2 separate regions of the Homo sapiens genome follow, and region 1 is linked to region 2. Evidence: promoter capture Hi-C in 16 types of primary human blood cells and fetal thymus (Javierre and others, 2016). All regions are on one chromosome and are shown on one strand. The core of a region is centred on a gene start or on the middle of the fragment in contact, and the rest is flanking DNA. Distances in the headings are between cores, read along the strand shown.

The links. The method cuts DNA at HindIII sites, captures the fragments that hold promoters and counts their contacts. A CHiCAGO score of 5 or more calls a contact.
Region 1: a contact is called between a fragment that was not itself captured here and the fragment with the promoter of LRRC4B in region 2, in 1 of 17 cell types (M2 macrophages). The highest score is 5.3, in M2 macrophages.

Annotation. Positions count from the first base shown.
Region 1 is chr19:51,065,985-51,069,717 of GRCh38, forward strand. No RefSeq gene overlaps it. Among named protein-coding and RNA genes, the nearest start is that of KLK13, 2.8 kb to the left of the region's middle. The HindIII fragment of the contact is 1,876 bases long and covers 489-2,364 here.
Region 2 is chr19:50,565,791-50,569,810 of GRCh38, forward strand. LRRC4B (leucine rich repeat containing 4B) reads right to left here and starts at 2,645. Exons shown (of 3, transcript NM_001080457.2): 1 at 2,154-2,645. The HindIII fragment of the contact is 11,248 bases long and covers 1-3,877 here.

The DNA.
Region 1 (3,733 bases), core at 177-2,676, 500 kb after region 2:
TAACTTCAACCCATTCTGCACCCAGTTTTCTAACCTCTTCTCCAACCCCATGCATAATTCTTAATAGGCAGTCAGCCCCCAGATGGCCGTGTTCTATCAGATTCCCACCTCCCTATCCATCCCTAACCATACCAAGTACTCCAGCCTGTTCCTCAACCCCAGTCCCATCTCCAACCTCATCTCAGGTTTAGCTCTCAACACATCCAGGTTCCAATTCCCAGTCTCATCTCAACCCTTTTTCTTTTGAAAGACACAAGGACACCCACAATTATCCCATCATCCTGCCTCCCTGCTCCCGCCAACCACCGGACACAAGAAGGAAATCATCAGCTGGGTGGATAGAAAATCAGCTCCCTCGGACTTGGATGGGGGCAGAGATGCGACCTGAGAAAGCAACATTTTCCAGAAATGGCCTTTTAGGAGCAGGGCCAGAGGGGGTGAGGGAGTCCACGGGGACCTAGGTGGAGAGGAAAAAGCAGGAGCCGGAAAGCTTTGAAGACGTGGATTGGGGGTGGGGGAGAGGAAGGAGGAAGGGGTGGTGTTTTGAGAATGAGTAGGTGTCTCCAGGAACTATGACTGGGTGGAGCCCTGAGTTAATCCTAGGGGGTGGAGGGGACAGGATTAGGGATTAAGGACTGAGGTGGGGTCAGAATTTGGAAGAAAGCCAGGGACGTGGACCAGATGAAGTTTGGAAAGAGTGAGAGAGTGGAGGTGTCACAATGAGGATAAAGAATAGAGATGGATGGGGCGAGGGCTCACATGGAAACTTGTACAGTCCTTATTGATGGAGTTCAGATTTGGATGTGGAGATCAAATCTAGTGTCAAAGGGTAACTTTTAAAACATGGTCTTACCATGACTCTCTGACATATATGAAATGAACATGTGTCAAAGATTGTATCTTGACTCATTAATAAATGGCAGAGCCAGTAAGATGTTACAAAGAGCCATATGCACAGAGACAACGAGGAATGCTGAAATGAATTTACAAATAGATGCAAAACTGGCTATTCCACACTGGGAGGAGGAGGGAAATCCATTGTACTTCCACCTGGCAAAATTCATGTAAACATTTATGGACAAGAATTATTTGCATTGCTCTCAGATACCTACAATTTAGAGTCATAAAGTGGCTCAAAGACAGGAAAGGGTACAGAGACCTCATAAAATCAGATAACCCATCTAACTTTGCATTGGCGACACCTCAGTGTCCAATGTTGGGTCCATTTCAAAGTATTTTGCTAAGAAGAAAAATATGGCTTAATATAGGAAATCAGTAGAGTCTATGGTTAAGGATGGGCCTGATGACAACATTAGGAATGCAATGAGTTTGGGGAGGTGAATGAAAATTGGATGAGGATGGGTATAGAGTTGGAGGTGGTAGTTGAGCTGGTTTTGGGATAGGATTAGATTGTAAGATGGGAGGTATCTAGGGATAAGTTGGTGTTGGGGTACTGTTGGGTTGGGGCTGAAGATGGAACCAAGATTGAGGTTTTGGATGGGGAAATGTTAAGATGTGGTTGAGCTGGGGTAGTGGGTTGACATGGGTGATGAGGACTGGCCATGAGGTTGAGTGTCTATGATGCAGTAGGTTTTGGTGGGGGTGAGCTGGGTCATACCCCACCTCTCAAGGTGAAAGAAAGGTCACTGTCTTTCTCCACCCTGGACTTCTCCCACCTCACAGGGCGGGGTCTGAGTTCACTTTTTGAGTGGAATTGTGTTCAGGTGGTGTGGCTGGAGGTAGGATGCCAGGTTAAGTGCGGCAACCAGCTTATGTGGGAAATCGGGGTACTTGTACCCTCCTGTGACCTGGGTCCATGCTTCCAGAGAAGCCTTTCTCACTTGGGAAAAGCTGGAGCCTGGAGTGAGGGTGGTTGGCCTTGTTATTTGCTGAGGGGTGAGTGCCAGGTCAAATTGATGTTAGGGGTTATGATTGGCCGAACGCGGGTTGGGTAGCTCTGGTTGAAGTGAGGTCATGGACCCACTGAGGGCTGGGCACCTTCCACCCCCTCACTTGATGAACAAGCCCACGGCTGAAAGTCACACACAAACTGGACCAAATCCAAGTGCGCTTCTGTCACAGGTGCAGGTCTTTCCTCCACCACAGAGAACCGGGCTGGAGAAAGAAGAAGAAAGGACCCGAAAAAGAGATGGTGTTCCTAGTGGTTCTGACCTCAGACTCTGGAGCTAGACTGCCTGAGTTCAGATGATGTGACTGCTCTGTGCCTCAGCATCCCCATTTGTAAAATGGCACAATCAATAGCACTTGCCTTATGGAGAAGGGTTAACTGGATTAATACCCAAAAATGCTTCGAAGAGAGTGTGGCATGGACCAAGGGCCACAATGCTCCTGTTAAATAAGTAAAGCTTAAGATGGAGGCATCTGACGGTTCCAGGAGGCCCCTCCCTATCTTGGCTTCAAAATGGGATTCTTTGTCAAGCAGGAACTGGAACTTCTGGTTGGAAGTGCTAGCTGGGATGAGAAAGTAGGCCCCACACCCAGGCCCAGAGGAGGGGCCCCAACGCAAACATGAAGGGAGGGGAAGACTGAGAGATACAAAGGGCTAAATACACAGAGACAGAAAGATGGGGCAGGTGGGAGAGGACAGAAAGAAAATTCAGAGGACAGAGGCACAGAGATAGAAAGAGAGAGATGCCCAGTGAGAAGCAGACTCTTGGTGAGAAAGAGGCACAGAGAGTTGAGAAACATGGATTCTTCTTTAGAGCTGGATCCGTGTTATTCAGGATGTGGCTCCAGTCATCATGCATCCCAGGCAGCAATAACACATCGCTTTCATCCATCAGAATAGCAAAAATTAGAAAGGTCGGTCTTGCCACCTACCTGCGTGCCCACATCCTCTGTCTCCTCTCCCATTTCTCTAGATGAACAGTCTGCACCTGCAGCTAAGATAGATGCCTCCACTGGTGCTGGTATCCTGTCCTCTCTTGCCTTCTGGAGGGCATTGCTCCAGCCAGCAGTTCTCTGTTCTCTTTCCTGCAACATGTTTTCCTTCTTCTCCAAGGAGCAGCCCCATTAGCATGCAAATATACTACAGTTTCTCCCATCTCTCGTTAAAATTTGAAAACCAACCAACAAAAATTTCTCCCCACTCTCATGTTCTCCTTCAGCTCCTGGCCCATTTTCTGCTCTGTACAACTGCAATCCTTCCCTAAAAAGTTGGCTAAGCTCACTGCCTGCAATTCCTGTCCTCCCGTCCTCCCTGGAGCCCACACTATGAAGGCTTTCTCTCCCATTGCTGTACCAACCATGCCCCTGTTTAGGGCAACAGTGACCTCCACGGTACTGAATCCAAGGGCCGTCTCTTCAGGTTCATCTTACTGGAGTTATCAGCAGCATTTAACAAGTGGACTACTCCCTGTTTCTTTCCTTGGCTTCTGGGACACTATGCTCTCCTGGTTTTCCTCATCACTCACTGGTTGATTCTCATCCGTGTCTGGAGGTGGTTTCTTCCTGTCTCCCCAGTCTCTACATGGTGGAGCACCTCAGGCTTCGGTCCTTGGCCTTCTTCTCTCCTCTGTCTATATTCACTCCCTCGGTGATCTCATCTGGTCTCGTGGCTTTAAATACCATCTACATGTTGACGACTCCCAAATTTATGTCTCCAGCCAGGTCTGACTCTCAAACTCTCCACTTAACATCCAGCTGCCTACTCAACATCTCCATGTTCAAAACCAACTTCTGTTCTCTGCCCTTCCCATGTTCCAAACATACT
Region 2 (4,020 bases), core at 1,395-3,894:
CCGCGTGTCTGCTCTCTGGGTGGGAGTGGCGTGTGTCCCCGGCTCCCCGACTCTTTCTTTCGGAAATTAAGTGAGTAACTCCGTGACTCCGTGCTGATGCCCTAATTGCCTGTATGTGTGTTTCGGAGGCTGGGTCCCTTCTCTCCCTCTGTGCCTCCCTCCCTGGCTCCCACTCTTCCCTTCCTTGGGTCTCTCTCCCCGCCTTTCGGCGGCTTCACTCTCTGTCCCTCATTTCTCTGTGTGCGTTTGGACAATCCGGTGGCCAGGAGGAGAGGAGCCCCAGGGAGGAGGAGGAGGAGGAAGGTGGGAAGGCGAAGTGGAGGCTGCGGAAAGGCAGGTTAGAAGGCGAAGGCTGCGGAAGATGCTACAGGAAGAGGGAGGTGCGGTCCTGGCCGCGGTCCGGGGGTGGGGGGCGGGAGTTTTCAGGCTCCTGGACCAGGAGGGAAGCCGGCTCCGGCTACTCCCAGCTGCCTGGAGCCCGAGTTCCTGTCTGGCGGCTGCGCGGCCGGGACTTGGGATGTGAGGCGCATAGCAATGGGGCGCTGCGGAGGCGCCACTGCAGCTCCCAGCTGGAGAGGGGGGCGGGGAGGGGGCCGAGGGGCAGCCCCGAGGCTCCCTTCCCCCTCCCCCTTCCCAGCTGGGCTCTCCCCAGGGGAATTCCCCACCCCGACAGAAAGTCACCAGAGGCTGCGGGGAGGGGGCAGGGAGGAGGGGAGGGCGCCTAGGAGGAGAGCAGAGGTGAGGAGGTCTGGGGAAGGAGATGGGGGTGCAGAGAGGAGGCGAAGGGGTGGAGGGGTGGGCAAGAGGCCATCCTGGGCTCTGGAGACTCGAGTCCTGGAGAGAGACTGGCTGGGCCCCTGGCAGGACAGGACCCCAGGGAGGCAGGGGCATAGAGATGGGGGGAACCCTGAGAGCCCGGGATTGATGGTGAGTTGGAAGGAGAGGCTCCCAAAAGGAGAGAGCTAGGATTGGGGGGGTCTGAGACTGGGGAGTACTATGGGGTGAGGAGACAACGATGGAGGGGGTCTCTGGGTGATGAAAGGTCATAGAAGGATGTTTCAGAGAGTGATGGGCTAAGGAGAAGGCGACTGGGGGTGTTGGGGAGAAAGGGGAGAGGCTGGGGTGCAAGGCCCAAAGAGGGGCGGGGAGGGAGTGGGAGGAGGGAGCTAGAGGAGAGGGCGGCTGAAGTGAGGGTCTCCTGGACAGAAGGTCTGGAGAGGGATATCTGGGGGATTGTCAGAGATGGGGGTTAGAGAAGGCTGAGGAGCAGATGCCGTGTCTTAGAAGGTCCTAGAAGAGCAGGTGTGAGGGTCGGAAGCCTGGGGAGGAGGCAGCAAATGGGGGGCGGGGGTCTCCAGGAGGAGAGGTTTCCAGGAGGGGAGGGCGGAGGGAGGTGGGAGAGGCAGTGGTCCTGGAGAGACACGTGCCCAAGGATAGAAGGCCCCAAAGCCTAGTGGGGTCAGGGAACGGGGGTCTTGGAGAGACGGAGGGGCAGGGGTCCGAGCCGCCCACCAGGAGAGGCGGGGTGACCCCAGAGGGAGAAGGGCTGAAGACTGGGGAGGGGGTTGTCTCACTCCCCAATCACCCCCTCCGTCTTTCCCATTTTCACTTCCCAAACTCCCCGGTTCTCCCCGGTTGCCACGGCAACCGCTCTTGCCAGGCGCGGTCACCAAGGAAACCCCGTGCCCGCCTCTCCCCCCTCCCCATCACTGGCGTGCCCCCCCCACCCCAAGCAGCAGCGGTGTGGAGGGTGGGAGGGGCCATGGGGAGAGGAAGAACCTGGACTCCCGCCCCAGAAAGGGGGGCCCGGACCTACGCCCGGAGAGCCCCCCACCCTAAGCCTACTTCCTCAGCCCCACAGCTGGATACGCAGCGACCGCCGGACGCACCCCCCACAACCTGTCCCCAGGCAGCGGCGACAACCACCCCCCCCACAGCACAGAACTCGCCCTGCCCGGAGAACCCCCACCCAGTCGCCTCCCCCACCGGCTTCTGCCTCCCATTAGGCCCCGCCCCCTGTCCTCTGCCATCCCCCCCCATCCCGGAGGAGGCCTAAGACCACTGTCCCCCAATTAGCGAATGCCCCCCACCCACCCCCCGCGGTTCCGCCTCCGGCCCCCGCCCCCGACCCGTGCCCCTTGGCGGCTACTCACAGCGAGGAGAGGGGTTCCTTCCGGGGGGCAGCATGCCCGGCCCGTGGGGGGAGGACCCCCCCAATGAGGCTCAGGAATTTGGGGTGCAAGGCCCGCTGCGGGGAGGCGCGGGGGGCGGGGCTGCGGCCGGGCCTGGAGCCTCTCGCGCTCTCCCCCCTCCCCGGCTCCTGGGTGGGGAGGGGGCTTCCGCAGCGGCGGCGGTGGGGCTGGGGGGGCCGCTCTGCCTCCTCGCCTCGCGCCCGCCTGCCGTCCGGCCCCGCGCCCTCGCCCGCCGCCCGCCTTCCTTCTTGCCTTCCTTTCTTTCCTTCTTTCTTTCCTGGCTTCCTTCCTTCCAGCCTTCCTTCCTTCCTTCCTCCCTCCTCGGGCCCGCCGGCGCCGCTCTCCCCCCACCCCACCCCCCCCCAGGCCCCGGCCCCGGCCCCGGCCCCCGCCTCGGACGGTGCGGCAGCGACCGAGAGCAGCCGAGAGCGGCGGAGACGGGAGCGGAATACTGATGATGGTGGGAGCGGGCGGGCGGAGGGAGGGAGCAGGGAGGGAGGCCCGGGAGGAGAGGAAGGGGGGAGAGAGGGAGGGGAGGGAGGGCAGCGTGGAGAGGGAGGAAGGAAAGAGGGGGGAAGAACCGGAGAGGATGGGAGAGGGAGGGAAGAAAGGAGAGGGAGACGGGAGGGAAGGGGAAGGGGGGGAGGAAAGAAGAGGGAAGGGGAGGAAAGAAGGAAGGAAGTGGGAAGGGGGTGGAAGAAAGAAGAGGGGGAGAAAAAGGGGAGGAGCAGGGGAGAGAGGAGGGAAAGGGGAGAGGGTGTGGGAGGGGAGGGGAGAGGAGGGGGTAACTCCTGCAATAAGGTCCTGGATGAAGGGGAGGGGAGGGCGGGGGGCAGGGGGAGTGGGTAGAGGAAGAGGAAAGGAGGGAGAGGAGGAGTGGAGGGGGAGATGGGTAGAGAGATGGGCAGGAGAGGCCCAGGGGCAGGGAAGTGAGGGGAAAGAGGAGGTAGGGAAGGCCTAACTTTGAGGGCTGCAGGGGACAGAGGGGCCTGGAGGGCGGCGGGGGCTGTGGGGAGAAGAATGGGGGGTGCGGTGTGCGTTGTCAGGAAGAGCAGGGGAAGCTGGCAGGACCCGGAAGAGGCAGGAGGATCTAAGTGGGACAGAGATGAGAGGATGGAAGAGGGAGGGAAGGACCCGTCGGGGGGAGGGGGGAGGAGAAAGATCTCGGGGGAGAGGAGAGAAGCTGGGGAGCTGGAGCTTTGAGGGCCCAAGACTGGGTGGCAAGAGCCCGGGGAGTAGACAGAGTGGGGGAGGGGACAGAGGGCCTTTCTTGAACTCCGCTGTATGCCCGCTTCGTCCGCCCCTCCACCTCATGAAGAGAAGAACCTTCAAACCCATTTTCCAGAAGAGACCACTGAGCTCTTGGAGGAGCCAGGATGGGGTTTGAATGCAGTCTTGGGCTGGGGGTACCCTGAGGGAGATGGAGAATGGGTCAGTTCCTAGCTTTCGTCCCTGGTCCAGACTTGGCAGGTGGAGGCACCTGGGAGGGGCAGAGGGCACAGCCTGCAGCCTCCCTACTCACTCTCCTCTCACCTCCCCCAGGTGTTGGCAGCGGGTGCTGGGGACGCATTTAGAGCTGTGAAGCTGAGCTGCATCTTGGGTGCAGGGAGGGGGAGGGCAGATGCAGAGGCCTCTGGGAGGTCACCGTGACCCTCCCCTCTACCTCCCCGGTCCACTACCCCAAAAGCTTGGGCCCCAAGGAAGGGGGACATCGGGAATCAGGGGCGGAGAAACCCAGAAGGAGGGGTGGCCCCTGTCCAGGACACTGAAGATCCTTCCAGATGTTAAAATTAGCACAGAAGTTTCACCCCTGCCTTGTTATCCCCCA